Regions from separate parts of the Homo sapiens genome. Here all the other regions are linked to region 2. The links are contacts of gene promoters, found by promoter capture Hi-C in blood cells and fetal thymus (Javierre and others, 2016). All regions are on one chromosome and are shown on one strand. The core of a region is centred on a gene start or on the middle of the fragment in contact, and the rest is flanking DNA. Distances in the headings are between cores, read along the strand shown.

Evidence for each region. Contacts are between HindIII fragments. The CHiCAGO score rates a contact against its expected background, and 5 or more counts as called.
Region 1: a contact is called between a fragment that was not itself captured here and the fragment with the promoter of FMR1-AS1 in region 2, in 1 of 17 cell types (total B cells). The highest score is 7.1, in total B cells.
Region 3: a contact is called between a fragment that was not itself captured here and the fragment with the promoter of FMR1-AS1 in region 2, in 1 of 17 cell types (neutrophils). The highest score is 5.9, in neutrophils.
Region 4: a fragment that was not itself captured here is called in contact with the fragment with the promoter of FMR1-AS1 in region 2 in 2 of 17 cell types (total CD8 T cells and activated CD4 T cells); the score reaches 7.7 in total CD8 T cells.
Region 5: a contact is called between a fragment that was not itself captured here and the fragment with the promoter of FMR1-AS1 in region 2, in 4 of 17 cell types (non-activated CD4 T cells, total CD8 T cells, activated CD4 T cells and 1 more). The highest score is 6.1, in non-activated CD4 T cells.
Region 6: a fragment that was not itself captured here is called in contact with the fragment with the promoter of FMR1-AS1 in region 2 in 1 of 17 cell types (activated CD4 T cells); the score reaches 5.6 in activated CD4 T cells.
Region 7: the fragment with the promoter of MTMR1 here is called in contact with the fragment with the promoter of FMR1-AS1 in region 2 in 3 of 17 cell types (total CD8 T cells, non-activated CD4 T cells and total B cells); the score reaches 11.5 in total CD8 T cells.

The regions. Positions count from the first base shown.
Region 1 is chrX:150,560,689-150,563,696 of GRCh38, forward strand. It overlaps a transcript of MTM1 not described here. Among named protein-coding and RNA genes, the nearest start is that of MTM1, 6.4 kb to the right of the region's middle. The HindIII fragment of the contact is 1,819 bases long and covers 438-2,256 here.
Region 2 is chrX:147,910,041-147,913,105 of GRCh38, forward strand. FMR1-AS1 (FMR1 antisense RNA 1) reads right to left here and starts at 1,777. Exons shown (of 2, transcript NR_024503.3): 1 at 1,602-1,777; 2 at 1-955. It overlaps FMR1 (fragile X messenger ribonucleoprotein 1), which reads left to right and starts at 1,879. Exons shown (of 17, transcript NM_002024.6): 1 at 1,879-2,190. The coding sequence starts at 2,140. RefSeq lists enhancers at 1,410-1,619, 2,200-2,299 and a silencer at 1,700-2,039. The HindIII fragment of the contact is 5,224 bases long and covers 1-3,065 here.
Region 3 is chrX:150,712,741-150,715,677 of GRCh38, forward strand. The region is part of intron 3 of MTMR1 (myotubularin related protein 1); the gene reads left to right. Among named protein-coding and RNA genes, the nearest start is that of MTMR1, 21 kb to the left of the region's middle. The HindIII fragment of the contact is 1,118 bases long and covers 759-1,876 here.
Region 4 is chrX:149,951,217-149,954,191 of GRCh38, forward strand. The region is part of intron 7 of EOLA2-DT (EOLA2 divergent transcript); the gene reads left to right. Among named protein-coding and RNA genes, the nearest start is that of EOLA2-DT, 14 kb to the left of the region's middle. The HindIII fragment of the contact is 3,193 bases long and covers 50-2,975 here.
Region 5 is chrX:150,903,853-150,907,071 of GRCh38, forward strand. No RefSeq gene overlaps it. Among named protein-coding and RNA genes, the nearest start is that of CD99L2, 6.8 kb to the left of the region's middle. RefSeq lists an enhancer at 1-34. The HindIII fragment of the contact is 489 bases long and covers 1,398-1,886 here.
Region 6 is chrX:150,357,112-150,360,198 of GRCh38, forward strand. No RefSeq gene overlaps it. Among named protein-coding and RNA genes, the nearest start is that of MAMLD1, 4.7 kb to the right of the region's middle. The HindIII fragment of the contact is 903 bases long and covers 1,266-2,168 here.
Region 7 is chrX:150,691,728-150,694,847 of GRCh38, forward strand. It overlaps MTMR1 (myotubularin related protein 1), which reads left to right and starts at 1,669. Exons shown (of 16, transcript NM_001306144.3): 1 at 1,669-1,949. The coding sequence starts at 1,804. RefSeq lists silencers at 1,600-1,669, 1,980-2,119 and an enhancer at 3,013-3,112. The HindIII fragment of the contact is 7,697 bases long and covers 1-3,120 here.

The DNA.
Region 1 (3,008 bases), core at 97-2,596, 2.7 Mb after region 2:
CTCATGGCAAGCTCCGCCTCCCGGGTTCACGCCATTCTCCTGCCTCACCCTCCCGAGTAGCTGGGACTACAGGCACCCGCCACCACACCCGGCTAATTTTTTGTATTTTTAGTAGAGACGGAGTTTCACCGTGTTAGCCAGGATGGTCTCGATCTCCTGGCCTCGTGATCCGCCCGCCTCGGTCTCCCAAAGTGCTGGGATTACAGGCGTGAGCCACCACACCCAGCCGGGGTTCTTTATATATTCTGGATATTAATCCTTCATCAGATATGTGATTTGCAAATATTTTCTTACATTCTTTAGGTTGCATTTTCACTCTTTTGTTTCTTTTGACGCACAGAAGTTTTAAATTTTGATGTACTTCATTTATCTACTTTACATTTGTTGCTGTGCTTTTGGTGTCATAGCTAAAAAATGATTGCCAAATCCTGTCAAGAAGCTTTCCCCTGTGTTTTCTGCTGAAAGTTTTATAGTTTTAGCTCTTACATTTGGATCTTTCATCCATTTCCAGTTAATTTTTGTATATGGTGTATGGTTAGGGTCTAACTTCATTCTTTTGCATGTGGATATCTGGTTTTCCCAACAGCATTTGTTGAAAAGATGCCCTCTCCCCATTGAATGGTCTTGGCACCTTTGTCTGAAAATCATTTGACCATATATTTTAAGGTTTCTGTCTGGTCTCTTTATTCTATCCCATTGGTATAAATGTCTGTCTTTATGCCAGTATCACACTATTTTGATTACTATAGGTTTGTAAGGTTTTGAAATCAGGAAATGTGAGATCTCCAACTTCATTCTTCTTTTTCAAGATTGTTTTGGCTATTTGGGGCCCCTTGATTTTCATGTGAATTTTATGATGTATTTTTCTAGTCTAAAAATAAAATATCTCTGCTGTTGAGATTTTGATAGCGACTACATTGAATTTGTGGATCACTTTGGAATGTATTTACATGTTAACAATATTGAGTCTTCTAATCCCTGAACACAGCTGTCTTTCCATTTATTTGTGTCTAATTTATTTTAGCAATATTTTGCAGTTTTCATTGTAAAAGTCTTTTGCCTCCTTGATTAAGTTTATTCCTATTTTATTCATTTTAATTAATCTTAAATAACACAATTTCGTTCAGGTTCAGCAAATATTTGCTGACATTCAGTTTTGTTTTTGTTTTTGTTTTTTGAGGCAGTCTCACTCTGTCACCCAGGCTGGAGTGCGGTGGTGCAATCTCGGCTCACGGCAGCCTCTACCTCCTGGGTTCAAGCGATTCTCCTGCCTCAGCCTCCCAAGTAGCTGGGATTACAGGCACCTGCCACCACACCTGGCTAATTTTTGTATTTTTAGTGGAGACGAGGTTTCACCATGTTGGCCAGACTGGTCTCAAACCTCAAGTGGGACCTCAACTGATCCACCTGCCTTGGTCTCCTAAAGTGTTGGGATTACAGGCATGAGCCGCTGAACCCGACCTCAGGTTTTTTTAATCTTTTATTTTTTCCCTTCTCATATATTCTCTCTTGGTTTTAATCTTGGGTCTACAAATCTGTGTTTGAGAAGTAGCATACTACACACCTCAACATGAATCAGGCCCTTCAAATAAAAGATAAAGCTCTTTTTAAAAAGCCTGTTTTGAGTAAAACACACTTGACTGTATCGTGAAACATTTCCTCATAGGGCTTACTTTCTTAAAAGTTATTTAGTGTAACAACTGAGGTTTCTTTTATTTTTATCTTATTTAAGTCTTTGTAATTGGGGGTAGAAGGAGAGGATCTTGTGAGTTGGGTTTAGTTTTATTTGTGATCTGACTGGGGCAATTTTGTCATGGTGTTGCCTGTGGACTAGACTTCAAAGTCCTCGGTGAATACCCTATATGTGCCTAGTGATGAAGGAAGCAAACAGGACTGGCACTTGGAAACATTGTGATGTCATGACCATAAGCCCTTTGTGCTGGCCCCGGTGTCCAAGAAGCCCTGAGACAAAGAACCTGGGTTTCTCTCTGTATGTGTTTTCATGTCCCATTACTTGGCTCAAACTTCCATCTAGCACCTGGCAAAATAGAACCTGCTGACCAGCGGGGCCTCCTCAAGGAGGCTCCAACTTAACATTGAGCTCTGTGAGAAAGTGGAAGCAAAATACCAGTGAGAAGCAATAGCAGTCTCGTCTGCCCAGGAGCAGAGTGTACAGGTTGGCTTTCACGGTCTCCTGGAGCCCCACTGCACATGTGCCTGCAGATCACTGGCAGCTCCCAGAGAGAAGCTGGGGGAAGCTTCTGATCCCTGGGGCCCACAAGGGTAATGCTCTCTCTGTCTGGGATGTAGATCCCAGGTCTCCTGCATCCAGGTAAGCTCTCTCTGTCCTGCCCCCATTAGGCTGGGCTCTGTCTTCTCCTGCTTCGGGAATGATAGAAATGTTCTATTTCTTGATTGTGATGGTGAACAGACTGGGTAGCACATCCTTGTTATTTTCACGGCAAGCATCACCACTCTCTCCCCTTCAAGACCCCAGTCCTCTTAGAAAACAACCAACCCACCAACCAACCAAAAAGAGATAGACAATTCTGGGCAGCCTTAGGAATCTTAACTGAGGCTATGTCTTCTTGTCTTCTTCCCATGCTTAAATCTCAGCTTTTTTTTTTTTTTTTTTTTTTTTTTTGAGACAGAGTCTTGCTTTGTCACCCAGGCTGGAGTGCAGTGCAGTGATCTTGGCTCACTGCAACCTCTGCCTTCCGGGTTCAAGCGATTCTCCTGACTCAGTCTCCTGAGTAGCTGGGACTACAGGCACGTGCCACCACACCTGGCTAATTTTTGTATTTTTAGTAGAGACGGGGTTTCACCACGTTGGTTAGGCTGGTCTTGAACTCCTGACCTCGTGATCTGCTTGCCTCGGCCTCCCAAAGTGCTGGGATTAAATCTCAGCTTTATTGGGCCGGGCACGATGGCTCACGCCTGTAATCCCAGCACTTTGGGAAGCTGTGGCAGGTGGATCACCTGAGGTCAGGAGTTCAAGACCAGCCTGG
Region 2 (3,065 bases), core at 527-3,026:
ATGAGGAAAAAATAATATAAACACTATAAAATAATGTAAACAAGGACCCTGTAGGGACTGATATGACAATGTGCTGAAAATTGAGGAGCAAAGTTAACTCTCTGTACCTGAGATAAAATAACTAGCTAATAGGAATCCAGCTGAAAACCTTAAGGTGCAGGGCCTCTATGGGGCCCAGGAAGGATGTGTAGAGACATGAACGGATGAAAGTGCATCACAGGTTCAGGGAACAACACAGGTTGAGTGTGGCTTGTAGTAAAAATGGTTGTGAAGAGTTGACATATTTTTAAGCCCTGGGTAAATTGAACAACAGCTTACACTTGGAGGGGTATAATCATTCTAATCAATGTGTCCCCTTTTACTATAATACATTGGAGTTGCAGCTAATGCTCTGCTCCCATTCAGCCTATGATGAGATTCTCTTTCAGCCCTATTGGGTTCTTGGCCTCATGTGACTACTCCAAAGACCCTAGTCCAAAAGGTCTTTCCTGTTTGCTATGGCCTTGAGGAATGTGGCCCTAGATCCACCGCTTTAAAGCTGGAGTTCCACCAGCAGCAACATCCTCTCATTCTGGGGCACCTGCCTGGGGCAGGTCATCCTGCCTCTGCCAACTCAGTGCTATTAGTTAACTCTCACCTGCCATATTCCAGCTGGAATCATCTCCCCTTCTCCACCCCAGACTAGGTCATGTTCCGCCATCATGGAAGCGCCTATTCTTCATACCCCTTATCACAGCTGCAACTACTCATTTACTTGTCTGACAATTTGATTTATGTCCACCTACTTTGCTAGGTACTAAGTTCAATGCTGGCAGTCGTTTCTTCTTTTTTTTTCTTTTCTGTTTTGCTCACCGATTTCTCGTTAGCACTTAGCACAGTGTCTGGCACACGATAGATGCTCCGTCAACTTCTCAGTTGGATACCAGCATCCCGAAGGGAACATGGATTAAGGCAGCTATAAGCACGGTGTAAAAACAGGAATAAGAAAAAGTTGAGGTTTGTTTCACAGTGGAATGTAAAGGGTTGCAAGGAGGTGCATCGGCCCCTGTGGACAGGACGCATGACTGCTACACACGTGTTCACCCCACCCTCTGGCACAGGGTGCACATACAGTAGGGGCAGAAATGAACCTCAAGTGCTTAACACAATTTTTAAAAAATATATAGTCAAGTGAAAGTATGAAAATGAGTTGAGGAAAGGCGAGTACGTGGGTCAAAGCTGGGTCTGAGGAAAGGCTCACATTTTGAGATCCCGACTCAATCCATGTCCCTTAAAGGGCACAGGGTGTCTCCACAGGGCCGCCCAAAATCTGGTGAGAGAGGGCGTAGACGCCTCACCTTCTGCCTCTACGGGTCACAAAAGCCTGGGTCACCCTGGTTGCCACTGTTCCTAGTTCAAAGTCTTCTTCTGTCTAATCCTTCACCCCTATTCTCGCCTTCCACTCCACCTCCCGCTCAGTCAGACTGCGCTACTTTGAACCGGACCAAACCAAACCAAACCAAACCAAACCAAACCAGACCAGACACCCCCTCCCGCGGAATCCCAGAGAGGCCGAACTGGGATAACCGGATGCATTTGATTTCCCACGCCACTGAGTGCACCTCTGCAGAAATGGGCGTTCTGGCCCTCGCGAGGCAGTGCGACCTGTCACCGCCCTTCAGCCTTCCCGCCCTCCACCAAGCCCGCGCACGCCCGGCCCGCGCGTCTGTCTTTCGACCCGGCACCCCGGCCGGTTCCCAGCAGCGCGCATGCGCGCGCTCCCAGGCCACTTGAAGAGAGAGGGCGGGGCCGAGGGGCTGAGCCCGCGGGGGGAGGGAACAGCGTTGATCACGTGACGTGGTTTCAGTGTTTACACCCGCAGCGGGCCGGGGGTTCGGCCTCAGTCAGGCGCTCAGCTCCGTTTCGGTTTCACTTCCGGTGGAGGGCCGCCTCTGAGCGGGCGGCGGGCCGACGGCGAGCGCGGGCGGCGGCGGTGACGGAGGCGCCGCTGCCAGGGGGCGTGCGGCAGCGCGGCGGCGGCGGCGGCGGCGGCGGCGGCGGAGGCGGCGGCGGCGGCGGCGGCGGCGGCGGCTGGGCCTCGAGCGCCCGCAGCCCACCTCTCGGGGGCGGGCTCCCGGCGCTAGCAGGGCTGAAGAGAAGATGGAGGAGCTGGTGGTGGAAGTGCGGGGCTCCAATGGCGCTTTCTACAAGGTACTTGGCTCTAGGGCAGGCCCCATCTTCGCCCTTCCTTCCCTCCCTTTTCTTCTTGGTGTCGGCGGGAGGCAGGCCCGGGGCCCTCTTCCCGAGCACCGCGCCTGGGTGCCAGGGCACGCTCGGCGGGATGTTGTTGGGAGGGAAGGACTGGACTTGGGGCCTGTTGGAAGCCCCTCTCCGACTCCGAGAGGCCCTAGCGCCTATCGAAATGAGAGACCAGCGAGGAGAGGGTTCTCTTTCGGCGCCGAGCCCCGCCGGGGTGAGCTGGGGATGGGCGAGGGCCGGCGGCAGGTACTAGAGCCGGGCGGGAAGGGCCGAAATCGGCGCTAAGTGACGGCGATGGCTTATTCCCCCTTTCCTAAACATCATCTCCCAGCGGGATCCGGGCCTGTCGTGTGGGTAGTTGTGGAGGAGCGGGGGGCGCTTCAGCCGGGCCGCCTCCTGCAGCGCCAAGAGGGCTTCAGGTCTCCTTTGGCTTCTCTTTTCCGGTCTAGCATTGGGACTTCGGAGAGCTCCACTGTTCTGGGCGAGGGCTGTGAAGAAAGAGTAGTAAGAAGCGGTAGTCGGCACCAAATCACAATGGCAACTGATTTTTAGTGGCTTCTCTTTGTGGATTTCGGAGGAGATTTTAGATCCAAAAGTTTCAGGAAGACCCTAACATGGCCCAGCAGTGCATTGAAGAAGTTGATCATCGTGAATATTCGCGTCCCCCTTTTTGTTAAACGGGGTAAATTCAGGAATGCACATGCTTCAGCGTCTAAAACCATTAGCAGCGCTGCTACTTAAAAATTGTGTGTGTGTGTTTAAGTTTCCAAAGACCTAAATATATGCCATGAAACTTCAGGTAATTAACTGAGAGTATATTATTACTA
Region 3 (2,937 bases), core at 68-2,567, 2.8 Mb after region 2:
TAAAAAAAAAAAGGTTAGTTGGCTGTCCTATCTAAGTAAGATTTCAAGTCATGTTTGTGTTTGCATGTTGAATCCAAAAAAGCAGAAGTGCTAATCTTGAAGCTAAATTTAGCAAAATCAATCCCAGTTACTATTTTTTAAAATACAGATATAGTGGGTTACAGCTTATATTTTCCTCATGATTTTCCTTCCCTTTATTTCAGAACATTCATAAAGCAAGACAAAGATTGGTAATGTGCATGCATTTAACAGACATTGAAAATTAACCTATTTCTATTCAAGGAAAACAATGTGGATTTTGATAGTATAATAACTTCAGTTTAAAAGTTTTAATCTTATTGAAGCCAATGAAGTAGTACAAAAATAAGCAAGCTAAGTCTTGTTATTCTAGCTGGTTTTCCTTTGTTTAGTCTTGTTTTCATCATGTTTTCTTTTGCTTGTGGGAATCATTTTCTTTCATTGATTCACACTGTTAAATATTAGTGCTTGGCTTTACACTTGCATGAACTTTGAAATGTTGTATTTTTTGTTCATTGAGTTTTCTGTTTCTAAAAACTTAATTACTCGATTTTCTTTATATTTAAAAAATGGAAATTTCAAAAAACTGGCTGCACTGAAAAATTACACTGCCTTGAAGTATGCTAAACTATACCAACTGTGTACTAAATTCAATCTGATGATAAAATATAAAAGTACATTAAGGAGTTATTGTACTTTATTGACAAAAATGGAAGGTGGGAAATAGTAAATTCTTTTAAAGCTTTACTAGTTCTTCACTGGTTGCCTTTGTAAAAACGATAATCATTGCAACCAAAGTTTCATGAAGCAAAAATATATATAGGCTAAATTTTAATATTTTTAGCCTCGGAGACTTGATAGAATTTTAAAAAGAGATTACAATCTTGTCATCTTCAGTATTCATATTCTTTTTTACCAGCTGCTGAATAAAAAGCCCAATTTTTAAAGTTTCAAAAAATAATAGATTCTATAAAGAAATTAAGAACAGTATACCTTTAAAGGGATTGGAAAAAATTAAAGATGTGTGGCCTTTTAGCTGTTTCTTGGAAGTGCGTTGATAGAGTAATTAGAAATATTTAATATGATATTGAGTTATAAATCACAGAATTTAATTAGCAATAAGCAATAAGAAACAGACATGTATATATATGTGTGTATACACACACACACACACACACACACACATACACATATATATATAATCTCCAGCATGTGATATATGCATGTGTGCAGTGGAATTGATCCCTGAGCAATGTAATATGAATACTTACTGTGTTTAAAATACATGTCTATAAACTGCCTTTGTATTTTGGCTTGACTTTGCCCTTTACCAGTTTTCTGTGGTATGCTTTATTTTCTGTGAGCACATTATGTGCCTGTTATTTTGTTTCTTTGCTATATGCTGTCTATTGCTTGGTTTTGAAAAGACAGTACATTCTTTGAAATCCATGATGTTTGTTTGCTTTTCATTTTTCTACCCCAACACAAACACAGAATAGATACTCCATTTTAGGCTGTGGATGCTATAGATGGCCTACATGTTATTTCCTTAACTCCAAGGGGGAAAATGTTGTGATTTGCAAAGTCATGAAAGGTGTGTCGACTTTTACATGCTTACTGTCTCCTTAAAAAAGAAATTCTGTCCTTTCACCTGTCTGTTTGCACGTGTTTCTCTTTCTCCTCTTTGCCTTTTCTTGTCCATGCACCTGGTGCTGTGCAGGAGATTCAGGAAGAACACAATGGCTACCCTTCTGAAGCTGAAGCTGATCAGGTGGCAAGTTCTACGTGTTCATCTGTTTGTAGCTACAGATCGTGTATTTAGAAGCCATTTCATTCTAGACTTCTAGATAATAAGCAAAGCTTTCCAGATGCCTCTACCACAATAGTAGTGCCCTCCTGTCCAAATTTGGTAGATTCCATATGACATTATTTGCAAAAATTGGTTTATCCAACATTTTGTCAACTAGAAATTTGTTTGTCTGTGTTTCTTGGTTTGCCCAGATAGGGTTATTGATGGGGTTAATGACCCTCCATCACGGTAGGATTCTGCAGTGCCTTTACATAGACATAGAGGGGACAGATACATATGCTAAGGGTGCTCCTTGAGGGTGCACACTTTGCTTTCTTCAAATATGCATGATCTATGCCCAACACAGTACCTGGTACCATGTAGATATTTGTGGAATTGGTACATATATTAATCAGAATACAAAATTATTCATAGAGTATTCTTGAGTGCTTACTCTGCTCAGTACCTCTAGACCCTCTCTGGAGTCTTTTAAAGCTGCAGTACTTTCCCCAATGCTTATGTGAAACAAAGAGAAGAGCAGCTCCAGGGATGTGTGGCATGCCCCAGGTGCTCAGCTGCACCATTGTCCACCATCATCCAGCCCCACTCTCCTTTGGTGACCCTGGAAGCAACTTGAAGAGCCCAGTTTGAAAGCCACTGCTTTTGGCATGCAACCATTATATAAACTATCCACCTGGCGGCTTGGATTCAGGCTGAGGAGAAAAGTAGCGGAGAGGCCAGGGTTGTTGGGTGGGCTGGAGCCCTCAGGAACAAATTCAGGGAGCTGGCAGACTTCGGCTAGACCTTCAGGGTCACTGGAACAAAGTTGGGATGAGGTCATCAGAGGGAATTCCCCAGCTGGGCAACACTTTGAGCCATGGCACCAAGAGGAATGGGTGTGTTTATGAAATCAAATTTAGTTCATAAGAATATTCCATCCTTTGATTGTGCTGAACATGGGTTGGATAAATCAAGGGTCAAATCATGTCCTGTGCAACCTTGTAGTTGCAGTAAAAGCTTAATGTAGCACAAGTGTGAGTCCCTTCTCCTAACAGCAGCTTCATAAAGGGAATCTACTATACTCACCAAAGCAAACAAAAAAACCTCCAAGCTTTTAAAACTCTTCTCTT
Region 4 (2,975 bases), core at 396-2,895, 2.0 Mb after region 2:
AGCAGGTGATCAAAAGTCGCTTGCATCCTTCTGTCCAATTGGGAACAAAAGCTTTCATGTATAATTCTCACACCTCTCCCTTGGAATCAGACAATCTTATCAGAAAACCTAAAAATTTTTTTCAATCAATTTAGAAGTTTATTTTGCCAAGGCTAAGGACATGCCTGTGACACTGCCTAAGAAGGTCCTGGTGACATGCCCAAGGTGGTCAGGCCACAGTTTGGTTTTTAGGGAGATATAAGACATCAACTGATACATGTGAGATGTACATTCGTTTGGTCTGGAAAAGCAGGACAAATGGAAGTTGGAGGACTTCCAGGTCATAGGCAGGTTCAGAAATTTTCTGACTGGTATTAATAATTGGTTGAGTTATTATCTAAAGACCTGGAATCATTAGAAGGGAATGTCTGGTTTACGATAAGGAGTTGTGGAGACCACAGTTTTATCATGCAGATGAAACCTCCAGGTAGCAGGCTTCAGAGAGAATAGATTGTAAATGTTTCTTATTAGACTTAAAGAGTCTATTGTATCAGTCTTAAGGACAGTGTTCATGTTGATGGTAATGAGGCATGTCCGACTCCCCCTTCCTCATCATGTCCTGAACTAGTTTTTCAGGTTAACTTTGGAATGCCCTTGGCCAAGAGGAGGGGTCCATTCAGGTGGTTGGGGAGCTTAGAATTTTATTTTTGGTTTACATTCTTTCCTTCTGGCCAGGATTTGCCAGAGGCAACATCAATGGACAAACTTTTATTTTGTCCCATAGCATTGTGGAGGTGGTTTGGCTGCCTGCCCCAGGTCCATCCTGTCCCTTGGTAGGATCTCTATGGCCAAGAGACTTACAGCCAAAAGACTTATAGACAGTTTAAATGTTCTAGGCCAGACAGGAATGGACGTGGACAGGCATTTATTACTCCTTAACAATTTTGAAGTAATGTAAAAGCCAACAAACAGAAAGTAAAAGGCGAGGTTACAAAATTGCCTTATCTATCTTTAACTTCTATGCATTGAGCTACTGTAGTCTTGGTTTTAGTTACAGATTTTTAGCAATTGGCTATATAAGCAAGCCTAAATTTTAAAAAGAAGAGAAAATGAAGCATACATTTAAAAGTTCTTAAACTTTTTTTTTGAAACAGGGTTTCACTTTGTCACTCAGGCTGGAGTGCAGTGATGTGATCATAGCTTTCTGCAGCCTTGACTTCCGGGCTCAAGTGATCCTCCCACCTCCGCCTCCTTAGTAGCTAGGACCACAGGCATGCACCAGCACACCCAGCAAATTAAAAAAAAATTTTTTTTAAAGATGAGATCTCACTATGTTGCCCAGGCTGGTCTGAAATTCCTGTCCTCAAGCAATCCTCCTGCCTTAGCCTCCCAAAGTGCTGAGATTACAGGCATGAGCTACCATGCCTGGCCTAAAACATTTTTAATGGAAGTATAATTTGCAAACAGAAAACATGCCCAAATATTAAGTGAATGCACTGATGAACATTCACAACTTAACAAGATAGCCAGCACTTAAATCACAAAATAGAACACCGCTAGGACCTCTTTGTAATACCCTCCAAGTCACTACTTCTGCCCAAAGGTAATCGCTATTTTGCAACATTTTTTATTACTTTATATAAATGAGATCGTACACTGCGTAATCTTATTACTGTCTGGATTTTTATATTAAATATTGCTTGTGAGATTCATCCATGTTGTCATGTCAGCAATACTTTATTCTCATTGCCATATACTATTCCATTTTTATCAGTATACCATGATATATTTACCCATTCTGCTATTTGTACATACTGGAATTGTTCCCAGGTTTTTGTAATACAAGCAAAGCTGCTATGAACATGCTTGGATTTACTTTCTTTGGTGAATATGTATTACTGTTATGTACATGTCTAGAGGTAAAATTGATGATTTATGGGATATGCATATGTTTAATTTTAGCAGATATTGAAAAACAGATTTTTAAAGCGGCTGTAGCAATTTACATTACCACCAGCAATGTGTGAGTTCCATTTGCTCTCCGTCCTTGACAGCACATGTTGTCACTTAGGTGGGTATGCAGGGGGATCCTTTTTTGGCATGTTTACTTATTTTTTTACACAGTGCAAACTGGTGTGGTGTACCGTTTTATGGCTTTTGCCTAATGCCATCACTAAAGTTACCAAACAATTCCATCACCTCAGAAATTGCTTTGTACCGCCTCTTGGCATTCATCCCCTTCTCCATTCTCAACCCTGGCAGCCACTGATCTAATTTCCATTCCCATAGTTTTCCAGATTATCAAAGAAACAGAATGATATGGTTGTAACCTTTTGGATGTAGCTTCTTTCAGGTAGCAAAATGCTTTTGAGATTTAACTATGTTGTTGTGTTTTCAGTAGTTCATTCCTTTGTGTGTGTGTGTGATAGTCTGACTCTCTTGCCCAGGCTGGAGTGCAGTGGTGTGATCTCAGCCCACTGCAACCCCTGCCTCCCACATTCAAGGGATTCTCATGCCTCAACCTCCCAAGTAGCTGGAACTACAGGCGTGCACCATTGCGCCTGGCTAATTTTTATATTTTTAGTAGAGACAAGGTTTCGCCATGTTGACCAGGCTGGTCTCGAACTCCTGGCCTCAAGTGATGCACCTGCCTCTGCCTCCCAAAGTGCTGGGATGACAGGCGTGAGCCACTGCACCCAGTCCAGAAGTTCATTGCTTTTTATTGCTGGGTCATATTCCATTGTATAGATGTATCACATTTTGTTTATGAGTCCTATAGTTGAGGGATACTTGGTTTGTTTCCATTTTTTCTCTATTATGGATACATTGTTATAAACATTTGTGTACAGGGTTTGTGTGAACATAGTTTTTATTTCTTTTGAGTAAATAGGAGTGGGATTGCTGGGTTACTTGGTAAATTGCTGGGTTATAGTTCTTTTTGAGAACTTGTCAAACTTTTGCTGAGTGGCTATACCATTTTGCATTCCCACTAGGAG
Region 5 (3,219 bases), core at 392-2,891, 3.0 Mb after region 2:
TGATTTCATTTATCCATGGAGTCTCAGGACTCTGTTGTACAGAACCCAGAAAATGCTGCTCTAGGTGACAGGAGCCATTAGAGTGAAAAGCTGGGGAGAGTGGAGAAGAGACAGAGGTGGGGAAGGAGAGGGAGGAGGCAGTGCAGAAGTCCCGGGAATGCTTTGGCTGGGCTCAGGAGGAAGGGCGAGGTGGCGTGGAGACTCTCCTGCTCTGCCTGCTTGTCCCAGAAACAGCCCAGTGTGGTGGGTCAGGAGCAGCGGCTTCACAGACAGCAGGGTCATCTTCCATTGCCATGTTTCTGCAGAGCAGCACCCCCTACCACCACCACCACCACCAATCACTCCTGTCTTACATGCAGCAGAGTTGCTCACTCCCAAAGGGGACCCTCTGTAATGTAATGCAACAAATTTCAATGAGATAGGAATCATCTCATCTTTTTTGATTCCTGTTAGGATTCCCATTGGTGGTTTGAGGAATTTTCTTAACACACCAACGACCACACGATAGTGATGATATTGGCAATTATGGCCATGGTGACTATGATCCCAAAAGAAAAGAAGACGATGCCAAAGGCCGGTGGGTCACGACTTCGTTTTAAGGCTCATTATCACGGGAAGGCGTCCTCTTCCTTGGAAATCTAAATGCAGAACACCCAGCCATCTTCAGGAAGCCTGTGTGTGCCAAGTCAGGCAGGGCAAAACCTTATACCTGCATGTTTTCCTAATGTGAGAGACTGCTCTGTAAATTTCTTTCTAGTGCTCAGTCGAGTTAATATGGAATTTGCATAAGCACTTGGCAAGAAATAACGTATGTCTCTGTAATATTTCCGAGGCAGTATTTTCTCCTCCAAACCCTGACCTCTGTAGGAACGGGACTTAACATTTGCCTCCCAAATGCAGAGTAGGGCTGTATTTAACTTACCCAGTGAAGTCTCCCCTAAGCACTCAGGGGACTCAAACCACAGAAACCAACATTTGGTCTCTTTGAATTAAGTCTTTTCATATAATTGAAGCAGCCCAAGAAACCTCCCAGAAAATGTTTCGGAACACAAATGTGGAATGGGGCATCCAATTAACAGCAATAACATTTTGTTCAAAAATAACTTTTGCAGACATATTGCGATGTCCAAAACAGAACTGCCCATTGCTGGCCTCCAAACCACTCTGCTCCTCCCACAAGTGTTCTCCTATCTTAGTAAATGGCACCACCAATCTCCCAGTTGCTAGGGCCTAAACCTTGGAGGCAGAAGTTCCCCCCTCCCCTGGTCTCACTCACTCCATTACCAAATCCTGAGAACTGTGTCTCCTAAAGTCTTGAATGTGTACACTCATCCCTGCCCTGAATAACTGCACAACAGCCTCCTCCAGCCCGTTTTTTTTACCCAGCAACCACGGGAAGCTTCTTAAAAAGTAAATCAGATCATGTTGTTCCCTTGCTTAAAACCCTCTAGTCTCATGTCCCAGGCCTTCCATCTCACTCACAGTAAATCCAAATTTCTGTTCATGGTCTACACAGCCCCACATGATCTGATCAGGCCCCTGCCTCCCTATTTAATTCTTCAACTCATTCCAGCTTCCCTTCTACACTGCCTCCCGCCCCACAACCGTCACCTCCCTGACCCCACCACTCCACCTGTCTGGAATAACTTCCCTTCCTTCCTTCACCTGGCCGTTCCCAGTTTATCCCTCATGCCATAAAAGAACATACTGTTCCCAGCCTAGGAAAGGCTCAGGACCCATGCCTTCTACCCTCACAGACCCTATGCTGAGTCCACCTTAACACTGAGCTTTGAATCCAGATGTGAGTTCAACTTGCTTTGCAATTTGCTGTCTCCTCACACTGGTCCTGTTTCTCAACCCTAGCAGCATGACAGAATCTTTGAGGAAGCTTTTTTTTTTTTTTTTTTCATTTAAATTGAGGTAAAATTCATATAATATAAAATTAACCTTTAAATGTGTACAATTTAGTGGCATTTACTACATTTGCAATATTGTGCAACTATCACCTCCATCTAGTTCTAGAACATTCCCATCACCCCAAAAGGAAATCCCAGACGCATTAAGCAGTCACTCCCCATTAGCCCTCCCCCAGCCCCGGGCAACCACTAATCTTTCTGTCTTTATGGATTTTGCCTATTGTGGACATTTTGTATAAATGGAACCATACACTATGTGGCCTTTTGTGTCTGGCTTCTTTTGCTGAGCGTAATGTTTTTGAGGCTCGTTCATGTTCTACTATGTATCAGAATTTCATGTCTTTTATGGCTGAATACTATTCAATTGTATAATAATACCACATTTTGTTGATCCATTCATCAGTAGACAGATATTTGGGTTGTTTCCAATTTGGGGCTATTGTGAGCAATGCTGCTATGAACACGGATGTACATACAAGCTTTTTGGTGGACATGTGTTTTTATTTCTCTCGGGTATACACATGAATTGCTGGGTATCAGGGAAGCTTTGAAAACCACGTTTGCCAGGGCTCTACTCTCCAAGTTTTCAATGTACTTGGCCTGAGGTAGGATAAGGCATTCCTATCCATCTAAAAGCTGAGACCATGGCTGGGCAAACTAAGGCCAGTGGGCCAAGTCCCGCCCACTGCCTGTTTTCATGTGACCCCTAAACAAAGAACGGTTGAGAAAAATAAAAACGAAGAATATTTTGTGACACATGAAAATGATGTGACATTTACTTTTTAGTATTTAAGTTGAGAGGCCAAGGTGGGAGGATCACTTGAGCCCAAGAATTCCACACCAGCCTAGGCAACATAGCAAGATCTCATCTCTACAAAAAATAAAAAGTTAGCCAGGCATGGTGGTGTGCACCTGTAGCCCCAGCTACTTGGGAGGCTGAGGCAGGAGAATGACTTGAGCCCCGGAGGTCAAGACTGCAGGGAGCCACGATCACGCCACTACACTCCAGGCTGGACAGCAGAGTGAGACCCTGTAACCAAAAAACAAAAAAACAAAACAAAAAAGTTTCAGTATCCGTAGAGTGTTATTGGCACGCAGTCACACCCACTTGTTTACATACTGTCTATAACTGCTTGTGTGCTACCAGGTCAGAGTCGAGGAGAGGCAACAGATTGTATGGCCCTCAAAGCTGAATATTCACTATCTGGTCCTTTACAGAAAAAGTTTGCTGGCCCCTACCTTTGTCCACTCTCAGTCCTCTTGTTACTAGATCTTTCAGCAGTGGTGGGCATGGTTGATCACT
Region 6 (3,087 bases), core at 467-2,966, 2.4 Mb after region 2:
TTTAAATCAGTGAAGTCGCCAGGAAATTACAATCAATATTTTAACCATTTCCCATTTGTTTCTATTGTGTTTCTTCAACATCCCCAAGAATATTAAAATTGTTCAAGAACACAGCAAAAAGAAATAAGTCAACTTGTTTCCCAGTGGCTCTCCTCTGCCCCACCGGGGCAAAATGCCGATGTGTCCTCTGTGAGTGCCCCAATCTGTTTCCTTACCTGGCACAGACTCATCTTTTTTTTTGCCAGACATATCAAGCACTTGCAGAGTGTTCAATATCACAAGATGTTTTGAACGTACATGCAAGACCTGAGCTTTTGTCCGAATACTTTTCATTTGATTAGGTTCAAGGCTGGCTGCCTCTTGTCTTTTAGGGTATGTAGGATAACAATCACGATAGCATCCTCTTCTCTGAGGGCTAATGACTCATGGGGTAGACACCTTGACTAGGGTGGTCCTGTCCATGACAGAACTAAAACCCTGACTACACACCAATAAGGCCGTTACTACTGTGACTCCATTTTGGAAATGAGACCTGTGAGGCTCAGGAGGTTGTACAGCTGGGAGACAGCAGAATCTGGGTGTACACCAGTGCCTTTTGCCTCCCAGATCAAGTTCACTGCACTTCCTCTGCATGGGGTAGTCGTCACCCAAGGCCTTCCCAAGGGCACTTGTCCGTCCTCATTCCTGTGTTCCTGTTGGTTGTGGCTTCCAGCAAGCTGTGGTCAGAGAACTCAGGTTCCCTGGGGCTAGGACTCTGTGCAGATGAGGAGTCCACAAGCCCTGAGCCAATGCCCCAGGAGCCTAGAGCTCAAGAGCCTGGGGGTGGGGGTCTCTGGCTTTGCTGAGGGCCTGGGGTGTGGCATCTGCCTGGCTGAGTGAGGCATGGGTGTAGGGGGCTGGGAGCCAAGGGAGCAGGTGGACGTGGTGGCCTCCAGTTGGGCATTGGCTAATGGCCTCTGAGCATTAGAGGTGAAGTGGGGGATGCCAGAAGGTGCTGGCCACATCCATCATCTCACTTTCTCTCTCTGGATTCATATTCTGCCATCCAGAGGGTACCCTGAACACCCCCCAACACACACACCCACTGCAGCTGAGGATTAGCCATGGGTCCATCAGGGAGGCTTTGGGGAAACCCCAAAAAGCACTGTTAAACTGTGAAACAAGGAAGAGCTGAGGACAAAGGCCTACGGTGTCAGAAAAGGACAGCTAGGGCTGAGGATGTCCAAAGGAGGGAGGGCACCTGTGCTGTGATGGGACTCAGGACAAGCTTCATTGAGGAGAAGGCCTTTGAGATGAGCCTTGAAGGCCAGGCAGGATTTTTTTTATATATATAGAGATGGGATCTCACTTTCTTGCCCAGGCTTGCCTCGAACTCCTGGGCTCAGACGATTCTCCCTCTTTGGCTCCCCAAAGTGCTGGGATTGCAGGCGTGATACACTGTGCTCAACCCAGGCAAGATTTTGAAAGGAGAGCTGGCATGGGGAATATATGAGCAAAGGGGCAGAAGTGGGAAGAACCAGGAATTGTTAGGTGTCCAGTCAGCAGTCCAGCCAAGCAGGAGACCCAGGTGCATGTGTGAAAGTACCAAGAGAAGAATCTAGAAGTAAACAGAGACTGGTGCTCACTATGAAGGGCCTTGCATGTCAAGCTGAGATGTTGGGATTTAGTGCTGTCAGCAGTAGAAAGCCGCAGGAGGCTTTTGAGCATGGGAGTAATGAGAAATAGAGTCACTGGATGTGTATTTCCTCTTTCCAGTCAACATGTGTGTTCTCCATGCGCCCCTACCTGCGCAGGCCACACCCAGAATTCCAGAGGCTGCCCAGTTAAGTCCCAGTATTTGTCAGATGAACTTGGGAAAACTTGCCATCTGTTCACAAGAATATGACTATAAATGACAGGTGGCTGATGATTGTATTTTTCAAATCCATTGAGCTCCAGGTTTGGGTCAGAGCAAAGACAGGGCTCATATCAGCCCCGGCATGGTATCTCTGGACCCCAATAGCCTAAGCCCAGCTTTTTGTTTAGCAACCACTCAGCAAAAGGACCAGGAGTTCCCCTAGGAGGACAGCTCCTTGAAACCCCATGGTATTCTTTTCCTTGCCTGGACCCACAGGCCAGGACTGCACACACTAAACATGGGTGGCCACATAGCAAGTGGAAATGGCCCAAGCTTTGAGGCCCAATTGCTTTACTGCTCTACCACTCATGGGTTGTGTGCCCCTGGATATGTGCCTCTACCTCTCTGAGTGTCTGATTTCCTCATTTAGAACATGGAGATAATGATCAACACCTCACTGGGGACACGGACCCTGCACGTAAAGCACAGGCTAGTTCTACGTTAATGGAGGAAGATGTGCTGCTGAGCTCCAGACTTGGTCTTGCATTTTGGGTGAAAAAAGGGCCCTGGCTCTCAGAGCCAGTCTACTCAGTGAAGAGAAAGCCCTCACCCTGCCTCTGTCTCCGGCCTCCTCTCCCATTTGTCCATCAACCTTGGGATACCCTAGGTGACAACCACAAGGAAACCTCTTTCCACCAGTAACTGAAGGAATCACTCTCTGTACCTTTGTGACTGCCTGTAAGACTGCCACCAATGCATGTGTGCCACACTGCCCCTTGGTGACATGACCCGAAGCTGGTTTCATGTCATTAACACAAAGCTCTTTGCCTGCCCTCTAGCCTTCTTAACCTTTGTTTAGGTCATGAACCACCTTCAAATGTGATGACATCTATGGGCCCCTTTTCCAGTGGGTGTGTACAGTGCAGTGGCCCCCAGAGTTTCCTGAAAAGTTCCAGGAAAGCAGAATCTACTAACATTCATTGAACAGATACTCCATGCCAGGCACCGTGCTGGGAGCTGGGAAGACAGCAGTGAACAAAACAGACGCTGACTGCTACCCTCTTGGGATCTAACCTATAGAGGAGGTCAGCTAGCGGTAAGCGCTAAAGAGAAAACAAAGCTGGGAAGGAGAGAGGAAGTGCCAGAGATGGGCGTGGGGCTTTGAAATGTTACATAGGGTGGCCAGGTGACATTTGTGTCAAGACTAAAGGAAATGAGGGAGCCAGCCCATAGATATCTTGGGGAAGTGA
Region 7 (3,120 bases), core at 419-2,918, 2.8 Mb after region 2:
ACAGTGAATTCCTCTTTGGCCTAATGTTTCTTAAAGAATATGGTACTTAAAATATGCTTAAAGTTGCACTGTTTTCTTTCTGACAATTCTCAGCACAGCTAAGATGCTTGCAGCTACTTGTAACAAAATACCCAACTAAAAGTGGGTGTCTTAGTGTGCTTAGGCTGCCAAAACAAAATACCATAGACTGGGTGGCTTAAACAACAGAAATTTTCTCACAACTCTGGAGGCTGGAAAGTCCAAGATTAAGTGTCCAGCAGGGACCTAGTAAGGGCTCTGTTCCTGGCTTGCAGATGGCCACCTTCTTGCTGTGTACTCACACGGCCTTTTCTCAGTGTGTGCATGTGAGTGCATGAGATCAAGCTCTCTGGTGACCCTTCTTAAAAAGCACCAGTTCCATCAGACTAGAGCTTGGCCCTCATGACCTAATTGCCTCTCAAAGACCCCATCTCCAAATACCATCACACAGGGAATTAGGGCTTCAACATATGGACTTCAGGGGGATGAAAACATTCAGTCCATAACAGTGGGTTAACCATTTGATTTAATAATTTTAGAAAGCCAGCAACCTGCAGTCGGTGATTCTCCAGTGTGAGATAGGAGCTATTATTGTCTGGGGATCTTCCTTTCCTTCCTCCTAGCCCTCCTCACTCTGTCATCTTCTTACCCCAGGCTCACCTCCTCTTGTGCGTAAGATGGCTGTCGGGGCTTCAGGCATCATATCCTCAAAGTTCAGTTTGAAGTTATTAAGCTGGTGGGGCAGGATGGGTCTGGGATGGGCATGAGTAACTCCCTGTCTGCAGATCTGCCTTTTAACAGTGAGCAAATTGTTCCCTTTATATCTTCTTTTCCAGACCTGGGTCGCAGGCCTCCTGTCTACACCCAGAGCAATCACAGGCAAAGAGGCTTAATCACGAGCCACACACCCACTCCCAACTTAATCAGGGGTGAGGTGAGAGGGGATGAGCTGTTGGATATTCGAACCCAAACAAAATGAGCAAGGAAATAAATCTAGCCCAGAAAGCAAATGTCCTAAATGCCTCACCAAGATATTGGCTTGATGTTCATAGCAGTGATTTTTTAATCAACAGAAGTTAAATGTTACTCTTAACATAAACCATGGGCGGAAGCTCCGAGGGCGGCATCAGAACACTTGGTTGCCCTACAGATGGCAAGGGGGTGGGTTTGTGGCGGGGCGGCGGGGTGCGTATGGAGGGGGAGAGTGGAGGGAAGAATGGGGTGGGGAGGAATTGCTAAAATGCACGGAATTGCTCCTGCTTCAAGATGTCAAGACCGAGGGAGCTTGAGCTGTTCTATACCTTTTCCGGGAAGGACAACTGAGGTGGGAAATCATTTTTGATACTTGAATGTCTTCAAACTTCTTTTTACACCCCACGTCTCTGCAGTCAACCCGGTGTGACTATAGAGTGAAGCACGCTACGCATAATCCGTTTGGGGATTCCGAACCCCAGTGGCTCTGTACGCACCCAGGTCGCTGGAGCAGGAGGTCCCAGATCCCCGCTGTAAGGCTCCGTGGGCGAGCGCCCAGGTGGGGCTGGGCGAGGTGGGGGTTCCCGGCGCCGGCCCCGCGCGCCGCCCTCCCCGCCCCCGCTCCCGCCCCCCGACCCCCGCGCGCGCGGCCTTGTGGGTAACGCGGGGCCGCCAGGTGACAGCTAATGGCGGCGGCCGCCTGAGGCGGGCGGGCGGTATAGAGCGGGCGGCAGGAGGCAAGCAGCGAAACCTTCCCGGCCGCCGCTCCCGTCCCGACGGCGGCTTCCCCAAGGCGGCAGGACTCGGCGCGCCATGGACAGGCCGGCGGCGGCGGCGGCGGCGGGCTGCGAGGGCGGCGGGGGCCCGAACCCGGGGCCGGCGGGCGGCAGGAGGCCTCCTCGGGCCGCGGGGGGCGCCACCGCCGGCTCCCGGCAGCCCAGCGTGGAGACCCTGGACAGGTAAGCGGGGCCCGGGCTGCCCCGGCCTCCCGCGCCCCGACTCCCGAGGGCCCCGCGCGAGGCCAGCCCGCCCCCTCCCCGCGCGCTGCGCAGGGCCTGGCGGTGGCGGGGTGGGCGGCCCCTCTTCATCCCCTCTGGGCCCTCCTCCCCCCCACCCCCGGAAACCTCAGCGCCCCATCCGGGGACTGCTGCCCTCGGACCTGCTGCGGGCCGCGCACCTGGCTCACTTCCGCCCCGAGAGCCCCAGCTCCTGGAACCCCGGGAGGGGCTTCGCAGCTGTCAAACCACTTCCGGCGCCGCCACCTGCTGCCCTTGGCGATCGCTTGGCTGTCCCTGCCCAGGCCACCAATCCTCTTGGGAGGGAGATCCCACCCGGGCTCTCCTCTTCTAGCATCACCTTGCCTCGTGTGGTTTTAAGACCCCAATTCTGCTGTGGCTGCTTAGGGTCTTTGATGGGGGGTTGGGAGTGAGGACGGGGAGATGGGACCCCGCGGGCGTGGGAGCTGGTGCAGATCGAGGCAAAAATCTGAGATGGAAAACGTCCAAACTGCTCAGGAGGCAAGAAAACAGAACCATTTACTTTCAGTTCTTCACACTTTGAGGGAACCAGTTTATTGTTTTCATGAACACACAAGCAAGCCTACTGCTTCTGAGGCAGCTGCAGAACTAAGAGAAATCAGTTAGAAACATAAAGTGACCGTGTCGAACTGGGAGGGGCCACCGCCTCCTCCGACGACAAGAGATGGCCTATCGTGTAACCCGGAACATCCAGTTTTCCCACAACTTGGCCATTTCCCTGACACCAGAGTGCACTCAGGCAGCATGCACTGTTGGAATGTAGCTCAGTCAGTTTTACATGCCCATTCCTGCCTGTCTTGGTCATCCCATTGTGCCAAACTTTTGGGAGTTTCCAAAAGCACAGAAACAAGAAACATTCCCTTCACTTTTGTTTCTACCTCAGTGTAATTACAATATATTTTAATAAATTAATCACCCAAGTGGTTAGTGTCACTGAAAACCAGTCACAGCTAAGACAGCACTTGAAATGGTGAGGACTTCACTCATCTGCAAATATTCAACCACACACGAGGTCTGGGCGATTCAGAGAATAGCACAACACGGCTTTTGCTGCCTTACCATTTTGCTAGACTTACCATCTAGTGGAGAATAC